Regions from separate parts of the Homo sapiens genome. Here all the other regions are linked to region 2. Evidence: promoter capture Hi-C in human tissues and cell types (Jung and others, 2019). All regions are on one chromosome and are shown on one strand. Each heading gives the region's core, a stretch centred on a gene start or on the middle of the fragment in contact. The rest is flanking DNA. Distances are from core to core; before and after follow the strand shown. Region 1 overlaps GPATCH8 (G-patch domain containing 8). Region 2 holds the start of ITGA2B (integrin subunit alpha 2b). Region 3 overlaps GPATCH8 (G-patch domain containing 8).

The links. Contacts are between HindIII fragments. The study calls those that stand out against the background at their distance.
Region 1: a fragment that was not itself captured here is called in contact with the fragment with the promoter of ITGA2B in region 2 in 5 of the 25 tissues and cell types used here (IMR-90 fibroblasts, dorsolateral prefrontal cortex, lymphoblastoid cells and 2 more).
Region 3: a contact is called between a fragment that was not itself captured here and the fragment with the promoter of ITGA2B in region 2, in 1 of the 25 tissues and cell types used here (pancreas).

The regions. Positions count from the first base shown.
Region 1 is chr17:44,432,278-44,434,977 of GRCh38, forward strand. The region is part of intron 5 of GPATCH8 (G-patch domain containing 8); the gene reads right to left. Among named protein-coding and RNA genes, the nearest start is that of ITGA2B, 44 kb to the left of the region's middle. The HindIII fragment of the contact is 4,000 bases long and covers 1-2,700 here.
Region 2 is chr17:44,388,281-44,390,980 of GRCh38, forward strand. It overlaps ITGA2B (integrin subunit alpha 2b), which reads right to left and starts at 1,369. Exons shown (of 30, transcript NM_000419.5): 1 at 1,006-1,369. The coding sequence starts at 1,193. RefSeq lists an enhancer at 1,526-1,585. The HindIII fragment of the contact is 17,139 bases long and covers 1-2,629 here.
Region 3 is chr17:44,449,962-44,452,661 of GRCh38, forward strand. All of the region lies in intron 3 of GPATCH8 (G-patch domain containing 8), which reads right to left. Among named protein-coding and RNA genes, the nearest start is that of GPATCH8, 52 kb to the right of the region's middle. The HindIII fragment of the contact is 3,187 bases long and covers 1-2,700 here.

The DNA.
Region 1 (2,700 bases), core at 120-2,619, 44 kb after region 2:
AACCCTCGTTTGATGTAGGATAGTATACGTAGATGAAGGCATTACTACCTGATGGTCCAAATTCTCTTTCTTAACTAAAAACATACGGGAAGGCAGAGATACGACAAGGGTAGTTAAGGAAAGATGAAGGCTGAGTACCAATGTTTGAGAATGACAGCTGAGAGGACTAAGAGGGACATGACACATGAGAGGATTAATTGGCAGCTCTGAGGGCCCAGTGAGGTTGGCAGAAAGGGTATAGAAATAAAGAATGCAAGTAATGCATTTTGTACTAACGGGACAGGCTTTTGGTGAGTATGTATGACAAAAGGACTAGGAGGAAAGGGAGTTGGAATCAAAGTGCTGTGAGAGGTAAACATGAGTGTGTGGTGCTAGAGGGGAAAAGTACAAATTAAGGAGGAGCTAAGTTACTAAAGCTTCCAAAGTCATGTGAAGTTGAAGAAAAAATATAGGAGAATAAAGGAGTGACAGCAGGAAGGAAAAAAGACCATGGTCAGATAATAGGACATTTAAGATTTTAGAAACAGTGTAGTTCAGAGTTGACAGGGTTTCGGAGTAAATATTTTGATCAATAAGATGGGGAAAGTAATTCTTGCTCTTGCCCAGGCTGGAGTGCAGTGGTGTGATCATAGGTCACTGCTGTCTTCAACTCCTGGGCCCAAGTGATCCTCCCAATTCAGCTTCTCTAAGTAGCTGGGATTTATAGGCATGCACCACCAACACCTAGCTATTTTTTTTCTTTTTTCTTTTTGTAGAGACAGATTCTTGCTACATTGCCCAGACTGCTCTCAAACTCCTGGGCTCAAGCAATCCTCCCAAAGCACAGCCGTGATCCACCGCACCCAGCCGAGAAATAATTCTATTACCAGGGAGAGAGCATCTCAAGATACTATGTATAATCTTATGAGGCTGTGAATTACTGAGGTATTTCATTTATTTTTCACTCGACAGTGTAACTTTTACTTGAAAAATAAAAATGTATTCTTTATAATGTTTATATTTCAGACAGTACATAAAATGAATCTGGCTTTTCTCACTATTTCAAAATATTTATTCATTCAACTAATATTTATTGAGTACTTATGCACCACACACTGTGCTGGATGCAGGATATATACTGGCAGACAAATAGACATACTCTCTCTCCTCAATGCCCTTTCTGACTAGTACAGAAAGCAGAATATAAATTAGTGAATAAAAATTTATAATTACAAATTGTAAGAGAGGTTGTTGCAAGAGAATAAGGCAGAGTGGTTAATTATTTAAATGAGTTGATTAGGGAAGATCTATAATGAGGTAATATTTAAGCTAAAACCCAAAGGAGAAAATTTAACCAAGTGAAAGATGATGAAACATGGTGTCATGACCACTCTTGTGCCTAGAGAAAGAATGTAGCCAGAAAAAGAGGGCCCAGGTCTGAAGCTGAGGAACTCCAATATCTGAAGTTCAGGCAGAATAAACAGCAGCCAACAAAGGAATCTACATAGAAGCAGCAAGACAGATAAGAAGCAACTAATCTAGGAAAGTATAAATTCTTCAAAACCAAGAGTAATGAAAATGTTTTAAAGAAGAAAGAGTATGCCAGGCGCAGTGGCTCACGCCTGTAATCCCCACACTTTGGGAGGCCGAGGTGGGCAGATCACGTGAGGTAAGGAGTTCGAGACCAGCCTGGCCAACATGGTGAAACCCCATCTCTACCAAAAATTCAAAAAAATTAGCTGGCCGTGGTGGCTCATACCTGTAGTCCCAGCTACTCGGAGGCTAAGGCACGAGAATCACTTGAACCCGGGAGCAGTGAGCTTAGATCACACCACTGTACTCCAGCCTGGGCAACAGAGTGAGACTCAGTCTTTAAAAAAAATAATAATATTAATAATAATAATAAAATAAATAAATAAATAAATGATTTATTGGATTTAGCAAATAGAAGTGTTTGGTGGCCTTGAATAAAGTGGTTTGGTGAAAACTGCTAAAGTCAGTATAAATAGGCTGAAGAGTGAATAAAGAGAGAGGAAAGGAGAAGAAAAAGGGGAAAGAAAAAGGGGCAGGAAAAGAAGATGAGTTGGTTATATTATAGTTCTGGATAAAATAAAACACACAAAAATTTAATATATAGCTAAGCTAAGTTCAAAAACAAGAAAGGGGGTCAAGCGCGGTGACTTACGCCTGAAATCCCAGCAAACTGGGAAGCCGTGGCAGGCAGATCACCTGAGGCAAGGAGTTCAAGACCAGCCTGGCCAACATGGTGAAACCCCATCTCTACTAAAAACACAAAAATTAGGCTTGGCGTGGTGGCTCACGCCTGTAATCCCAGCACTTTGGGAGGCCGAGGCGGGTGGATCACAAGGTCAGGAGTTCGAGACCAGCCTGACCAACATGGTGAAACCCCGTCTCTACTGAGTGTTGGGGTTACAAGTGTGAGCCACTGTGTCTGGCCTCTGCAAGTGTTGGGGTTACAAGTGTGAGCCATTGTGTCTGGCCTCAAAGGACTTTTAACAATTTTTACTGCTACCACTACTTGAATACCTACTATGTAACAGGCATTGTGTTTTCAAACACTAATTCATGTAATCTTTCTAACACACTTTAGAAGTAGGTATTATTATCTCTATAGTTTATACAGAGCCAATAAATAGGAATGTAATAGAAATCTGAGATCTACTACTAATTACCACCAAATGTCAAACAAATGCTGTTAGC
Region 2 (2,700 bases), core at 119-2,618:
GTGCGGGAGGGTAGACAACTTTAGTTCTGCAAATCAATTTAGGACATGTGCTCCTCTCCACATTTCCTTTCTTTTTTTTTTTTTTTTTTTTTTGAGACAGAGTTTCGCTCTCGTTGCCCAGGCTGGAGTGCAATGGCATGATCTCGGCTCACCACAACCTCTGCCTCTCAGGTTCAAACGATTCTCCTGCCTCAGCCTCCCGAGTAGCTGGGATTACAAGCATGCGGCACCACGCCCGGCTAATTTTTTTTTTTTTGAGACGGAGTGTCACTCTGTCACCCAGGCTGGAGTGCAGTGGCATGATCTCAGCTCACTGCAACCTCCACCTCCCGGGTTCAAGTGATTCTCCTACCTCAGCCTCCCGAGTAGCTGGGACTACAGGAGTGTGCCACCACGCTCAGCTAATTTTTGTATTTTTAATAGAGACAGGGTTTCACCATATTGGCCAGGCTGGTCTTGAACTCCTGACCTCATGATCTGCCCACCTCTGCCTCCCAAAGTGCTGGGATTGCAGGTGTGAGCCACTGTGCCTGGTCTCTTTTTTTTTTTTTTTTTTGTATTTTTAGTAGAGACGGGGTTTCTCCATGTTGGTCAGGCTGGTCTCGAATTCTCGACCTCAGGTGATCTGCCCGCCTCGGCCTCCCAAAGTGCTGGGATTACAGGCATGAGCCACCGCGCCCGGCCTCCTCTCTGCATTTCAAGGTGTTGAGGGTGGAGTGGTTCATACAACTGACCCTTGGGGAAAAAATAAAGCATCAACTCTTGTCTTCCCTTTGTTCTTGCTGTAGTTTTCAGTGCCCATCAGCCCACATGTGCCCTGCCCTTATACCTTCACCTGAGCCAGTCCCCTGGACCCCAACATTCTTGACAAGAAATCAACCTGAATAGGCCCCACAAGTCACCTTGCTCAACTGCTATCGCAAATGGGAAACTCGAAGCCCCCAGAAGCAGTGATGGGGAGGGGTCCTGCTCTCTCCCAATACCCCAACTTCCCTTACGGCTCACCTCCCATGGCTGTCCTTGTGGAAGTCCAGTGAAAATCCAAACTGGCTGCCATTGGGGCCTGCATAGAAGGTGAGCTGCACTGGGTCCAGGTTCAAGGCCCAGGCTGGAGGGGCAGCACAAGGTCCCAAGAGCAGCAGCACCCACTCCAGAAGCCAGAGGGCTTGCAGTGGACACAAAGCTCTGGCCATCTTCCTTCTTCCACAACCTCCCAGGCAGGAATGGGCCAGCTCCTCCTCCTTCCCTTCAGATTCCTCCACAGGAAGTCTTTTCTTATCAAACTGGAACCCCAAGTAACTTGCTGAGCAACGGGCAGAGCAAAGGGCTATAGCCCCTGGACTCATGGTGGCTAGAATTGCCAGGAAGTGGGTGAGGCCACCCAGAGGGTGGATGCTCATGGCTGAAAGCCATGACTCCTCCCCTTTCCTGAGAATAGTTTATTACCATGTCCTATTGGTTCTGCCTATCAATGATGTCTCTTGAATCTTTACCCCATCTCTACTACCACCGTGCTAGTCCAAGCCACCATCACTTTCTGCTTGGGATAGCGTGATTGTGAACTGGTCCATACTTGTCTACTCTAGCCTACAGTTCTAATCTCCTCCCTTCCCCCATCTGGCTGTACAGCTGTGGTGCTTTGTGACTTGGCCACAGGTCGGGGAAGGAGAAGGAAGCTGCTGCCCCCGATAAAACCTGAGGCTTCTGTATCTTTTTGGATATGGCATTTACCCACTTCCTCCTTCTAGGACCTTGGGCGGCCTCAACCAGCCATATTGGTGCAGCAGCTTCCTCACTCCTCCTCCGTCTTGAGCCAAGCTTTAGTGTGGCCACAGCAGTGCAGTCAGTGCTGGGGACAGGGTGGTGAATGGACCTTGGTCTAGGTGGCAAGGAGATTGGGGATAAAGTGGAGTTATTCCAGGGAATTTTGACTCACAGTTTCTGAGATTATGCATTAGCTGTTCAGTTGAAGGTAGGCCCTCAATCCTTTTTGGGTGATGGAGCTCTTTAACCATTAAGACTTGATTCTGGTTGGGGGCTTTGCCTAGGGGAGCCTTCCCTGACTCCTCAGGCTGGCCGCGTGGGCTAACACACGTAGGCACAGCATTGAGCACACTGTTTACTCTTGGTCCGTTCACAGGATTGTGTAAATGAGTCCCTTGGGAGCAAGGCTCCTTGCTACAGCCCTAGAGACTACCCAAGAGTCCAATGTGTAGTACGTGTATTGCTGAAAGACTGGATGGAAACACACACTAAGGATGGAAGATGCAAACATAGGGTGACAAAGTGAAGGGATGAGTTTTGAGCAGAAAGGCAAAGTCATTTTCTCTCGGTAAGCGGAAGAGGAGGAGTGCCAAGTCTTACTGGCACTCATGCCTTCCCAAAAAAGCAGGTTCTCAGGAAGATTTAAGAGGTCCGCTAGGGGTAACCATAGCCACATTTTCCTTTTGATTTCTATTTTCTGATCAAACTTAACCATTGCCGTATCCTGCTCAACCACCCTGTACCATTTTGAAGTCCCCTCGTAATTTACTACCTCAGCCTAGAGTTAAGAATCTTATCCTTTATAGGACAGGAAGCTAAAAGCCTGAACTTTGGTCTGGGCCTTCTTCATTGCTGAGTTCCCAGTGTCAAGTACATGGGAGGCGTGTAATTAATGTATTTGCTTGAACGAATACTTAACCCAGTCCTCTACTTACC
Region 3 (2,700 bases), core at 184-2,683, 62 kb after region 2:
TTTCTCAATCTTTTAAGTGGCATTATGTCTTATTCTATATACTGGAGAGAGAAATATATAGGTATATAAAACATATAGCCATATTTAATTCCTGACACCCCCAAATCTTGTAAAAATATGGCTATATGGAGGGTATAGCAAGGTCACAGTGCTTACTAGTTGCAGAGTTAGAATTGAACCCAGGTGAAATTTCAGATGAGCTCACAAAGTAGTAACTTGCGGTTCAAATACAGCCTGGTATGTTTTGTTTAATTTCATTATTTTAGACTTCAAGCCAACATTTATCAATTAGAACATTTCACAGAAAAGGAATCTGAATTCCTGGCTGCTTTTAACAATTTTAGAAGATCCAGCAACACTGAGATTATAATCTTAGGTGGCAACAATTACCTTCTCTAAACACAGCAAAACTCACACCACTTGCTATTGTCTCACACTCACTCAATTTCAACAACGTATGCTATCATCGGGCCCCAACTCCTACTTCAGGTCTACATTCTTTGCTCCCTCCTTTTGAACCAAATGGGATTTACAAGAAAACCAAGTGGGATTTCTATCTACTGGTTTGGGAAGATTTAGTGAGAAAGGAAATACTGGATTTAAAACTAATAAACTACATTTGAAATACTACATAAAAATATATTACACTTTGTTCTCTTTTCCGAGTGTTTTAAGTGCCATTGTTTTGAATTTTGGTGGTAAATTTTAAATGAACTTTTGAAAGATTTTAATAAAATATGTTTATTATAAAACACTTTTTACTTTATGTTCTTATCATTTTCAGATTTCATTCCACTTTAAAATACCAACGCTTCTCATGGAAGAATAAAGAGATTCCACTAACTCACAGACACCTGTACTCCATGTATCTATCAGCAAGTATAGATGCACAGATAGAAAATAGTTGGTTGCTTCTTTATTCTCACAATCTGAGACTTTTCACTTGTTAATTATTATAAAAAATTTGAAATTATAACTTAAATTGCTCAATTCTCTATTAAGCTTCCACTGTACCTTTAACTTCACAATTAAAACAATCATTATACTGTATTAAATTTGTTACATTATTTGTTTCCCTATTAGAAATAAACCTCTGGAGGGCAGAGGTTCTATCTTATTCACTCTTAAAGACTTAGTACAGATCTGGCACATTCTTTTTCTCTTTTTCTTTGGAGACAGAGTCTTACTCTGTCACCCAGGCGGCTCACTGTAACCTCCGCCTCCTGAGTTCAAGCTATTCTCATGCCTCAGCCTTCCAAGTAGCTGGGATTACAGGCGTGCACCAACATGCCTGGCTAATTTTTGTATATTTTGGTAGAGAGGGTTTCGCCATGTTGGCCAGGCTGGTCTTGAACTCCTAGCCTCAAGTGATCCACCTGCCTCGTCCTCCCATAGAGCTGTGATTACAGTCGTGAGCCACCACACCCAACCCAGATCTGGCACCTTTTAAGCATGCAATAAACATATGCAGAATACAAAACAAGAAAAACAGCAACAGAGAATACATAAATGCACAGTAATTACTATCCTTTAGGAATTTACAGTCTACTGAATTAGGTAAAAGAGACACATCAACAAAAATTATACAAGATTGAATATTTAAAATGCCACAGGAGAGAAACAGAAAGTAGAAGTCAGGGAGGAAATTATAGTATGAGACATAAGTTACAGTATTTTCTTTTTCCCTGGACACCAATTTCCATCCCTAAATATTTGGCAAAAGTTCTTACCACTCAACTTTAGCCTTAAGTTTCTAGTGAATTTATACTCATCATGAAGAATATATATGACCACTTCAAGTGCCCTACGAGAATATATCACATTCAGAATTATCTCCACTTTTTCTGGCCTGAATAACTACTGTATATTTCAATTCGGTGGCACTGGTATTTCTCACCACCATCATATCTCTCCAGGATAGGGAAGTAAGCTAGCACCTACAGTTTAGGTACATTACAGCATATTGGTTAAAAGCATAGGTTTTGGCACCAAGATTCTACCACTTATCTGCTGTAAGATCTTGGGCAGGCTGGGCGTGGTGGCTTAAGCCTGTAATCCCAGCACTTTGGGAGGCCGATTCGGGCGGATTGCCCGAGGTCAGGAGTTTGAGACCAGTCTGGCCAACATAGTGAAACCCCGTCTCTAATAAAAATACAGGAAAATTAGTCAGGTGTGGTGGCATGCACCTATAATCTCAGCTAGTTGGGAGGCTGAGGCAGGGGAATTGCTTGAACCAGGGAGGTGGAGGTTGCAGTGAGCCGAGACTGCACCACTGCACTCCAGCCTGGGTGACAGAGCAACACTCCGTCTCAAAAAAAAAAAAAAAAAGAAAAAAAAAAAAAGGAAAAAAGATCTTGGGCAAAGATCTTTTGGTAAAATGCTCTTTGGGTAAAATGGGAGTATCTACCTCAAAGAGGATTTAAGTTAGAAAATCCATGTCCAAGCACTCAGTAAACACTTAATAAATGATGGCTATTATAAAAGATTAACACTAAATCTAGTGAATAGGGGCTTGCTAGTCAAACATGTGCATAAACTGACTATATATTGTCTTCATAGTTGACCTGTTTTATCAGCCTTCATAGTTATTCCTTCCTTTCCATTTCCACTATTACTCTTTCAAGTCCTTATCTATACTCATACCCAGACAACTTTCTAAATGGTTTTCCATCTCCATCCTCAGACATTCTTTGAGCAGAC